Regions from separate parts of the Homo sapiens genome. Here regions 2 and 3 are each linked to region 1. The links are contacts of gene promoters, found by promoter capture Hi-C in blood cells and fetal thymus (Javierre and others, 2016). All regions are on one chromosome and are shown on one strand. Each heading gives the region's core, a stretch centred on a gene start or on the middle of the fragment in contact. The rest is flanking DNA. Distances are from core to core; before and after follow the strand shown.

What was found. The method cuts DNA at HindIII sites, captures the fragments that hold promoters and counts their contacts. A CHiCAGO score of 5 or more calls a contact.
Region 2: a fragment that was not itself captured here is called in contact with the fragment with the promoter of DMRTA1 in region 1 in 2 of 17 cell types (total B cells and M0 macrophages); the score reaches 6.2 in total B cells.
Region 3: a contact is called between a fragment that was not itself captured here and the fragment with the promoter of DMRTA1 in region 1, in 1 of 17 cell types (total B cells). The highest score is 6.2, in total B cells.

What each region holds. Positions count from the first base shown.
Region 1 is chr9:22,444,828-22,448,477 of GRCh38, forward strand. It overlaps DMRTA1 (DMRT like family A1), which reads left to right and starts at 1,997. Exons shown (of 2, transcript NM_022160.3): 1 at 1,997-2,905. The coding sequence starts at 2,239. RefSeq lists an enhancer at 2,173-2,672. The HindIII fragment of the contact is 6,499 bases long and covers 1-3,254 here.
Region 2 is chr9:21,796,918-21,800,567 of GRCh38, forward strand. No RefSeq gene overlaps it. Among named protein-coding and RNA genes, the nearest start is that of MTAP, 3.9 kb to the right of the region's middle. The HindIII fragment of the contact is 2,027 bases long and covers 816-2,842 here.
Region 3 is chr9:21,837,423-21,841,072 of GRCh38, forward strand. It overlaps MTAP (methylthioadenosine phosphorylase), which reads left to right. Exons shown (of 8, transcript NM_002451.4): 5 at 486-588. Among named protein-coding and RNA genes, the nearest start is that of MTAP, 37 kb to the left of the region's middle. The HindIII fragment of the contact is 3,499 bases long and covers 327-3,650 here.

The sequences.
Region 1 (3,650 bases), core at 747-3,246:
TATTTAAAACTCTTTTATTAAGAAAAGTAATATATATCGAGAACCTAGGTGTTAGGAACAGTAAAATATGCATTTTATTATATACATTATGATTTAGGTAAGTTATCTCGTTTAATCCTCAAGTAACCATATGATTATTCTCATTTTACAAATGAGAAAATTGAGGACAGAGTGAGATAAAGTAACTTACTAAAAGTGGATCCAGAATTTGAGAGCAACACTTTTTGACTCCAAAACCACCAAGACAATGTTTTCCAGACCTCAATTTTTTGGCGATGTATGCATTATCTGCATAATTCTTCATTTAAATTGACAAATATTTAACTTAAATACATTTATTTAAAAACTATTTTTACTTCCTTGGAGGAAAACCAATATCACTTTCCATAATTATAAGATAACTTTAAAAATCAAATAAAAACAGAAAAATATCGCTAAACTCTAGGTAAACATTTTACTTGCTGCTCTTTGTTGTTGTTATTGAAAAACACAATTAAAAGGTATTTTAAAAATTTAAAAGACATATTTGCATTAAGCTGAACATTCCCATTATGTAACCTGAAGCTCCTAAAAAGAATAGAAAAGAAAATTGCTTTCTCGTTAGGTAATTCATTGTATTTTAATGATCCATTTAGAACTAAAAACTCATCTCTCAAAGGACGGATGTGAGTCCACAGTTAGGGCATCAGTACATTTTAGGCAGGAGTAGCTTGAACAAAGATAAAGAGTTGTGAGAAAGGTTGGATATCATAGAACCCCCAGAGGTTAGGAATTCCTTGAGTGGTAGTTCTAAACATTGTATGTAATTTTCACCTTCAGAGTTTAAGACACAGACAAAAAGAATCAGAATACATTACGTAGATTGGAGTGTCCATCTCTTTTAAAAGTTCCCTAGGTAGTTCCAGTTCTTAGGAAGGGTGGAAAACTTCTACGATAGGATGTTTGTATGAGAGGATGGTAGTGGTGGTGATGGTGTTGAGTAGGTTGGTAGGAGAAAGGCCAGATAGATCAGCAATATCTGCTCTGAATGTGAACAGGTGGAATGGTAAAAATATCATTATTAATTGCTATCTTAGGGATGGAAAATGAATAACTTGTCCAAGGTAGTTGGATACCATCTTGAAGAGCTGGCAGAGTGCTGACGCTACCTTCCATTAAGAATAAACATTCATGAATTTTCTATCTCAGATGCTCTTTTGACTTAAACGCCTTATGGTCTTTTCTTATAATTAAAGGCATTAAATTCATATGTGAAGAATGCATTCATGACAGCATATTTAAATAATGATCTAAACGACTTTCCCCAATACTTTACAATAGACATAAGTATTTTTGAAACAGCTTTAACACAATCGCTGCCTATAAATAGGCGCAGAGAAGAGTTTGATAACTTTTTTAAAGTAGCAGTATTTTAAAATAGAGTACACACAACCCAAATTCGCATGTGTAAATAAATAGAATGCATGAAAAGAATCTGAATGTGAATCACTTCCCTTAGTTATTTATCCATTGTTTTGATGCTGTCCTAAGACCCATTTAAAATAAGGCATCTTTCTGGTGGGTAACAAATTCGTAGTCTATCAAGCTGGGATCCCACTAACATTGGCCAAACTGCTGCAGACATGAAGACTTCATCTGGGAACCCGAAAGGAGAACTCAAAATCCAAATCTTCAGACTTTCTTAGGAGAAGCGTGGAAGTGGGAAAAGGAGAAATTCAAACTCTGCTTAATTTCAAAAGGGCAGTAAAAGGGGAGGCTGCAAAGGCTAGTTTACAAAAATAGACGTCGAGAACTCCTAGGGAAGCAAGTAGAAACGGGCTTTTTTTGGGGGAGGAGACATTTGCAGCCCATTGGACGGATTCCCCGCCGCCCTCCTCCCAGAAGGTCCCCACTCCCCGCCCCGGGCCCTCCCCCGGCTTCCGCGCTGGGCCGGGAGCCTGGGTGGGCGGGGTAGCCTCTCTAGCCTTGCCTTCTTGGCTGGAGGCACAAAGGCATTAACTTAGCGCCCGGGGTCTCTGCCAGGCTCACGGGACAGCTGCACCTCTCAGCGTCTCCAGCTCCAGGACGCGGTCGTCCCAACTCCTTCCGAGTGGAAAGAGTGTAAAACTTTTGTCCGTGCGCGGGTGGAGCTCAGTAGGACCACGGCGCGTCCTGCCCCGGCTTCCCCAGCCTCCCAGCAGGGTTAGCTGCGGTCAGCGCACTTTCCACTTGGGACTCCCGGCCAGAAATTTCTCGGGAATGGAGCGGTCACAGTGTGGCAGCAGAGACCGAGGCGTTAGCGGCCGACCTCACTTGGCCCCTGGGCTAGTGGTGGCTGCCCCTCCGCCCCCGTCCCCGGCGTTGCCGGTACCATCGGGGATGCAGGTTCCCCCAGCGTTCCTGCGGCCGCCCAGCCTCTTTCTGCGAGCAGCGGCCGCGGCCGCCGCCGCCGCTGCCGCCACCTCGGGAAGCGGAGGCTGCCCGCCGGCTCCCGGGCTGGAGAGCGGGGTAGGCGCGGTGGGCTGCGGCTACCCGCGGACGCCCAAGTGCGCCCGCTGTCGTAACCATGGTGTGGTGTCAGCGCTCAAGGGCCACAAGCGCTTCTGCCGCTGGCGGGACTGCGCGTGTGCCAAGTGCACCCTGATCGCCGAGCGCCAGCGCGTCATGGCCGCCCAGGTGGCGCTGCGCAGGCAGCAGGCGCAGGAGGAGAGCGAAGCCCGGGGGCTACAGAGGCTCCTGTGCTCGGGGCTCTCCTGGCCCCCCGGTGGTCGGGCATCCGGGGGCGGCGGCAGAGCCGAGAATCCACAGTCCACGGGCGGCCCTGCGGCGGGGGCTGCGCTGGGACTGGGTGCCTTGAGACAGGCCAGTGGTTCCGCGACCCCCGCTTTCGAAGTTTTCCAGCAAGATTATCCTGAGGAAAAACAAGGTGAGTTGGTCTTTGATTTACTCTTTGCTCAAGGAATGGTTGTTCTGGAAAGAAACTCTGAAACAAGCCACCGTGTCCATAGGCGGGCAGGAATAGTTGTTTAAAAGAAACACTTTAAGTTTTGGGGAACTGCTCAGCAATATGGACATTAATGAGAGTGTGAGAGACCCCATCGCCTTCACTTTGGAGGAATTTACTGTTGTTCCCTCAGGTGATAGGATGAGATAATGAAAAAATGAAGCATGGGTGGTAACAAATGAGCAATTCACCCTAGGAGTAGAGTTATTTACTCGGAAGTTGATTTGACTTTCACTGTGTGAGTAGAACTTCAAGCAGGCATTGAGCGAAAAGCTTCGTAAGAGGTGCTGTGTTTGAGTCTGCTCTGTACTCTTTCCAGACAGGATCTCACTCTGTTGCCCAGGCTGGAGTGCAGTGGCGCCATTACAGCTCACTGCAGCCTCAACCTCCCCAGGCTCAGGTGATCCTCCCTGCTCTGGACTGTTTTCAGCTGTAAAACCAGAGCTGATTTTGCGTGGGAAACTCTGATAGTTGGGGATGCAGTTCTTTACTACATGTTGGGGCAAACATTTGTTGCAAGCTTGATGTGGGGAAGAGACTGAAATCTACCAAACCATCGTCTTTCTTTGTTTCTTCACTCTAAATTGTTTTCGCAAAATGTAATTTGTAAAACCATAGGTAAGAATTTCAAAGTTCAATATTAGAGGTTTTTTATCCAAGGAGTTTT
Region 2 (3,650 bases), core at 579-3,078, 650 kb before region 1:
ATTGGACAAAAAGGGCATGACATACTGCTAACAGACTGAGTGGGGAAACCCAGCAAAGCTGTCTGTCTAGATTCTTCTTGGCCTCTCTGTGTAGGATTCCTTCCTTATGGGTATGAGTCAGGTCTCTCTCTGGAATGGGGGTATTATAACCCACAGTCAAACAAGATAGGTCAGACAATTTCTTCATGGCCATATTCGCATATCTTTTGGTTCTTACCCTTCACACAGAAAGGCAGAGGGAAGGTTAGAGAAATATGTTTAGGTTTTACGGCTGGCTTTAGGGAAAAGATCTTCTGGTTTCTATTATCCACCTTGGGGAAGAAGGATTCTAGTTTCTATGGTAGCATCAGGGGGATAATGGGCGTGAAAGACAGGCAGGAGAAGGTCAGAGAAAAACTTTCGCTTTTGAGGCTGCTTCTGAGGACTTCCTTTTTGGGGTGTTGTTATCTGAATCTCAACAGTGGAAAAAATAATAATTAATCAAGAGTTTAGACTTTGCAATTAGGACAGATTCAGGACTGAATCTCAATTACTTTAGTTATATAAATTTGAGAAGACTTCTTAAATGCTCTGAGCCTCATGTTCCTCATGCAATGATAGTGATAATAACACCAACACTTGTCCTTTCTCAAACATCACATCCTACCTAGAATTTAATTATCTCAATTTAAGGCTTAATACCTGTAAAATTCATAAACCCCTGGGTGAGGTAACATTTTAAGGTGATTTTGGCAACTTAACAGGTTTGATAGGTTTGATTGACATTTTGATGGGCTAGAGAGAGGGAAGTCCTGAAGATTCCAAACGGACAAGGAAGCTTTGGGGAGAGGCAAATAAGCAGAAAAGATGAAGTTACAGCAATTCAACTTCTCTCTCTCTCCTCCTCTGTAAAATGGAAATTACATTAATAGCAATGACATTAATATCTGTGAGGATTAAATGAAGAATATGTGGCTCTTAATAAATATTAGCTGTTTTGTTGTTGCTCTTGAAGATGCTCAGAAGACAAATATGACTTTGTTCCCAATTTGTTTTTAGGATTGTATGTACAGACAACATATGGATTTGCCAGAGAAGAAAAGCAATGCTTTTAGACTTATTTCCTGCCTTAAGTTTTTAAAGTGGAATAAAGAGCAGTGGGTCACATAAGAGCTCATTATATGGGTCTTTCATCATAGCTTTAGATCCTGACACGCTAAGCAGAGATTATGTTGCATCTGTGATATTAAAATACATCTGGGTATCTATTACTTTTTGGCCCTTTTCTATACAAAGCACAGAAGCTGAGAATCATGTCTCTTCAGATCAAGATTGAACATACTCTCTCTTTCACTGAGGGAGGTATAGGGTTCAGGGCTTAATCTTACACTTTGCTTATCCTATAACAGAAATAATAATACCTATTATTATTTATAATAGGTATGTGAAGATCCTGGGAGTCCAGGGTAGATGGCCATTCTGTTAACCTGAATATGCTTTTAATGTGCAGCATTAATCTAAGAAAAGTGAAAAAATGGTGAGATTTTACTTCAAAAAATCCAAATTATATGCAACTTAAGTCATCTTCAGTAGAGTTTCAGAAATGATAGGGGAGATACAATTTGAAGTGAACTTTGAAGACAAGACAAGGTGATTTGCAATGAAGGATATTTCTAGGGTAAAAGGGACTTTGAATAGAAGGAACGAATAAAGAAAACTGAAGGAGAACTTGATTCTATTGCAACAAGAAACATATGGCTAATTCCAACTATCTGGAGCATACCAACTTTAAAGCAGACTGTCAAAACTGACCCTACTTAACTCATTTTAAAGCATGGGGTTCTTCCCTCAACCAAAAACACAGATGCCAGGTTACACTTTATAACTGGACTCTCCACTTTCATTAAAGGTCATTATAAGGAATTGCCACCTAAAATGTGATGTAAATATTTTTTGAGAAACCTAGTATATCACTTGCAATTCCCTCTATAAAGTACCTGCAATAAATGCATTTTTAATATTAGATTTCAGTAATATTTTCTTCACTTGTGACATACTACTTATTTTGTTTTATCACTATGATAATGGGAGAATGGAACACTTCTCTTTGTTTTTTGTTCTTATTTCCTTAAAGTTTTAGAGTAATAGTCACATACTAACCTATAAGAAATTTAGAAAGGTTCAATTAGGCCTTCTATGACAAAAATATCTAAGTCTCTAGTTACTAAAATGTTAATGTTTATGTTGTATCATGGTCTATACTGCAGAGTCAGGGTAAAGACACATAGCTGTATTTTTTAGATCAATAATTTGTTCAGTTATTTACAATCAAGAGTGTTAAGAGAACTTGGATTGCAGACAAATCTCTTATACATTTATCCAATTATATTCAATGTTTTTTCAGAAGGGTACCTTAGGACTGGCCTGGTACATACTTGCATATCTTTTGCTTCTTAATAAACACTAGCCACTATTTTCTTTTCAGTACATTTTTTTTCCTTCTTGGGCAGGATAAAGAGAAGTTGATTATTCTGATAATTGCCTGTGGAGAAGTTTCTTTGGATACAATTTTATTAAGGGCATTGAGTCTCTGAGTTTAACTTTTTTCTTCCCAATGACCACACTGTGCACAACGATGATGTTGTGGATTTTGAACCTGAATTTATACCAGTTCAGACATCTTTGGCTTCTTCATGCTGGCATAGGCTTGCCTGGCTGAGAATCTGAAGATGCAATAATTTTTAAAATGTATTACTGTCATTATTATAATTAGTTTACTTATTGTTCCCCCAGATATTTTTTCAACAATGTTCTGCTAAATCTAGAGTGGCTGCTTGCTAATAGAACTTTAGCTTTTTCACAAAGCTTCCAATGTGGGAATCTAATCCATTGTCAAAAGTAGTGGCCAAAATGTCCCTACTCATTGTGGCTGTGATACAGGTGTATTGTAAAAAGATGTGATTCACACACCATTGGGGATCTCTAAGCACACCTCCATGTTATTTAGAATTTTTATTTTGGCCCAAATATCTACAAGGTAGTGGGGAGTTATGTGAGTTTCTTAGGCCATGACAACTTGCCAGCTTTAATACCTTCAGATGAGGATGGGTTACCAGCCAGCTTGGGCCCATTTTGTAGTACCCATCCAGGACAGACATACTGGTCAGGGGCAGAAATATAACAATTCAGTGGGAAAGCTGATATGGTTGGCTGAGGTGATACATTTCATGCATTTGTGTGAATACTTCCTCCTGAAGATTTGATGATTCTGGAATGGTTTGGAGACGACTTCAAAAATAACATGTTTAGTAAAAGGGAACTGTAGGACACTGAAGAACCACTGCTCAAGACCCAACATAGTCAGCTACTGGTGATAACCATTTCAGTACTTTGTTGGCTAGGACCTAGAAGTTGGGAAGACATTTATGAGAGATTATCAAAAAGGGAGAAGCTGTTGGAATCCTTATACTGTTTCATAATCAGAATTGTTGTAAGGTGACCTAGTTCTTGATAATTATCTTTAGAAAAGCAAGGGTACAGGTTAACAGAGGGGGATTTATAGGATAAGAACAGAAGGGCAGGGCAAAATCTATGTTCACAAATAGACCGACTCTCCTTGTCTTGTTGACATAGTAATCAAAAAGGGAGACCACTGAAAATTTTTGCGTATT
Region 3 (3,650 bases), core at 826-3,325, 610 kb before region 1:
TTTGCATCTGCTCTGAGTCAAAGCCTGGGATTTGTGTTTGTGAAAAAGCTAATAGAGGAAGCAAGTTGGACACAATTTAAGAAATTGTTGAATCTGGGTGATGTGTATATGGTGTTAAGTATATGATTTTCCACGTCTGTGATGATGAAACATTTTTGTATTGACTTCTTAAGTGTCTTACCTGGCCTTTCTGAGCCCACAGTTGAGTTGCACCTGCAATCCAAAGTGGTTACCCCGTCACGGCTGCCAGACCACAGACACTTTAATTCTTGTTGTGCGGTGTGTTGCTGCCAGCCCAGAGCCAAAAAAGCGGAATACCACCCTGAAGCTTTTGTAAACAATTGTCTTTAGCTTATCCAGAGGAATTGAGTCTGGAGTAAAGACCCAAATATTGACCTAGATAAAGTTGACTCACCAGCCCTCGGAGGATGGAAAGATGGCCTTAAAATAAAACAAACAAAAACCTTTTTTGCTTTATTTTGTAGGACCACTATGAGACCTCAGTCCTTCTATGATGGAAGTCATTCTTGTGCCAGAGGAGTGTGCCATATTCCAATGGCTGAGCCGTTTTGCCCCAAAACGAGAGAGGTGTGTAGTCTTTCTGGAAGGTGTACCAGAATAAATCATGTGGGCTTGGGGTGGCATCTGGCATTTGGTTAATTGGCAGAGCGAGTGGCCCCATACCCTCACTCAAGTTTGCTTTGTATTATGCAAAGTTTTATGAAGAGTTATTTCCTGTTGCTAATAATTTCCTGTTCCTCTGTTACTCTCAGTCATTTTAAGCTGAACCACTCAAAGTTGCAACCTACCTTTTTAATAAGTTTTGATTTTGCTATCTAGATAAAATGATTTAACATAGAATATCACATTACTCAAGAGTATGCAGTCTGGAGCCAGATTACTTAGGATCAAATCTCTGCTCTTCAACAAAGTAGCTGTGTCCAAGAGGACAAATTATTTGACATATGTGGGTTTCAGTTATCTTACTTCTAAAATGAAGATAATTATAGCATGTACCTTATAAGACTGTGTGAGGGATGAGAGAGTTAATACTTAATGAAGTCTCTGAACCATGCCTGTCAGTTATGGAACATCCAATGGCTGGTAACTGCTTTTGTGAATTAAATTACTATTATTGATCTTCTAAAAATGGTCAGATTGGCAGCTGTTGCCTTTGACCTGAGTTTGGCCATTACTGCCCAGCCTTCTGTCTACCATTATAGCCAAATCACAGAACTATGGGGACAGCCCCACAAGGGCCAGTGGTGGTATAAGGGGTGGAATCACAGTTTTAGTTCCCAAGCAACAAAAATGGCTACCATGACTAAGAAGCCTATGGCTTGGTCCACATGTGCTACTTCTCTTATAATCCCAGGTTTGAAAGTCAGGTGCAACTCAAAAGATCAGAAGTATCGTTAGAGATTAACTGCTTCATAAAATCTCCCTTATGAGTTAACTTAGAGAATATAAATACCTAAACACGTTAGTTATTCAGATAATGTTAACACCTGCATATAGAGAGTAGATGATTTCTTTTAGCATTTATGTTTTATCCTACATAATCACAGAAAACCCATTTCCTTATAGTTAACAGCAAGGGCACCTAAACTGAGGACACAGGGTTGGGAGAAATATTTCTAGTCTCAAACAAGAATTTGGAATCTAAAACCGAGTACTGAGGGAAGCCATTTCGGAGATACCACTGCGCATTGATTTTCTCTGACTTCTAGGAAAGTACGTCTTTTACTTGGTTTTTTTTTTTTTTTAAAAAAGTGGCAGGCGAAGTTTGTATATGTATGTATAGCATGTTTCTGGATAGTTATCCACAGAATGTATCAGAATGCTGCTAGTCTTCCTCTGAAGCACAGATCTGTCCACATAATAGATTTGCTATCCTGGGGGAAATGAAGTATGGATAAAATTCTTGTCCACTTCAAAATGGGGGCAGCTTGGGAAGAAATAGTCTAAGGAGAGAATATGCATGCTCGTATGAATCTGAGGTCAGTTCTCAGGCAAAATACAGTGACTTGGGGAACTAGGAGTAGAGGTAGATGGGGAAAGCACAATGGAGCTGTATAGAGCACATGTAAATGTGGGTCTGTGGTGATAATTTCCAGTAATCCAAGTTAGCCTCCCTTGAAGCCAAATTAATTCAGCTTCATAAAGACTGAGAGAATACTGGGAAAGGCAATTTAAGAAAATGGCAAAATAAGCATTCAGAAAGAAATTTTTAAATATTATCCAAAAACATGAAGAGTAAATAGTGCTGCCACTTGGTAATTTTCACTTTTAACATCCACATGATCTTTCATGTACTGATGGAATAGGACTGTCATGATGAATTGTCAAGTGGCAAGCAAGATACTCAGTGGTTGTACCATATTCTACCATTTATGTTAAAGTATGTATATATACAAAGAAGTAAGTATGTAAATATTTATATACAAATAAAATATTTTTGGAAAGTTAACAAAAAAAGCTGGTAACAGGAAACAGGGAAGATGGCAGATAAGAGACAGGGCTGGCCACCACGGTGGCTCACGCCTGTAATCCCAGCACTTTGGAAGGCCAAGGCAGGCGGATCATGAGGTCAGGAGATCAAGAACATTCTGGCTAACATGGTGAAACCCTGTCTCTACTAAAAATACGAAAAGTTAGCCAGGCATGGTGGCAGGCACCTATAGTCCCAGCTACTTGGGAGGCTGAGGCAGGAGAATCGCTTGAACCTGGGAGGCAGAGCTTGCAGTGAGCCAAGATTGTGCCACTGCACTCCAGCCTGGGTGACAGAGACTCCATGTCAAAAAAAAAAAAAAGTAAAGAAAAGACAGGGCTAACGTGCAGCTTCCACAAGGACGGACAGAATAGCATATGGAGACACTATGATCTTTTGTTCCAAGAACCACTGTAGGAACTTACCGGGAAAACCAAAAGAATTCAAAGATCCTTTGAAAGAAGTGGCACACCACTGCAAATTCTGCAAAACAGGCAAGAAACTGAGTTCCCAAAGTGTGAGTCGGGGAGAACCTACCTCTGAATACACATCCCCACTGGGGAAATCTAAAAATCCAGATCATGGAGGAAGAATTTAACCTTACCTAGAGGTGAAACGGATTTAGGGGGTTATGTGAAATATGAAAGTAGAAGTAGCAACAGGAAGTGCTTTGGATGTACTCCCAGTCTCCAGCTTGAGTCCAGGGAAGCCAGCCCTGACTATATCTCACAGTGGCCCTCAGGTAAGGCAGCCAGTGGAATTGGAGAGTGATGGCAGGGCGAAGGAAGCTCCCAAATGAAATCAGTAGTGGTTTCAGCTGGTCACAAATTTTCTCAGGCAGAGTCCAAGGGACTAATGGGAGCCGCAGCAGATACAAGTGAGTACAGGAGCTGCTGCTGATGGAGTGGGCAGGTGGGAAGGGGTGAGGTCCAAAGGCCATGCTTGCTTTCCCAGTGGGGTAGCTCACAGCCTGGGGCAAGGTCTGAGCAGGGCACTGCAGGAGTGAGACTAGCCTCACCAACTGCATAGTAGCTGGATGAGGCCTCTTGCTGCTGGCTCTCCCCCACTACCCTGGTAAAGTTTATGATACAGCAGAGGCAGTCAAGATCTCCTCTGGAACATAAACCCAGTGGCCTGACAAACCACCCCCATCCCCCAA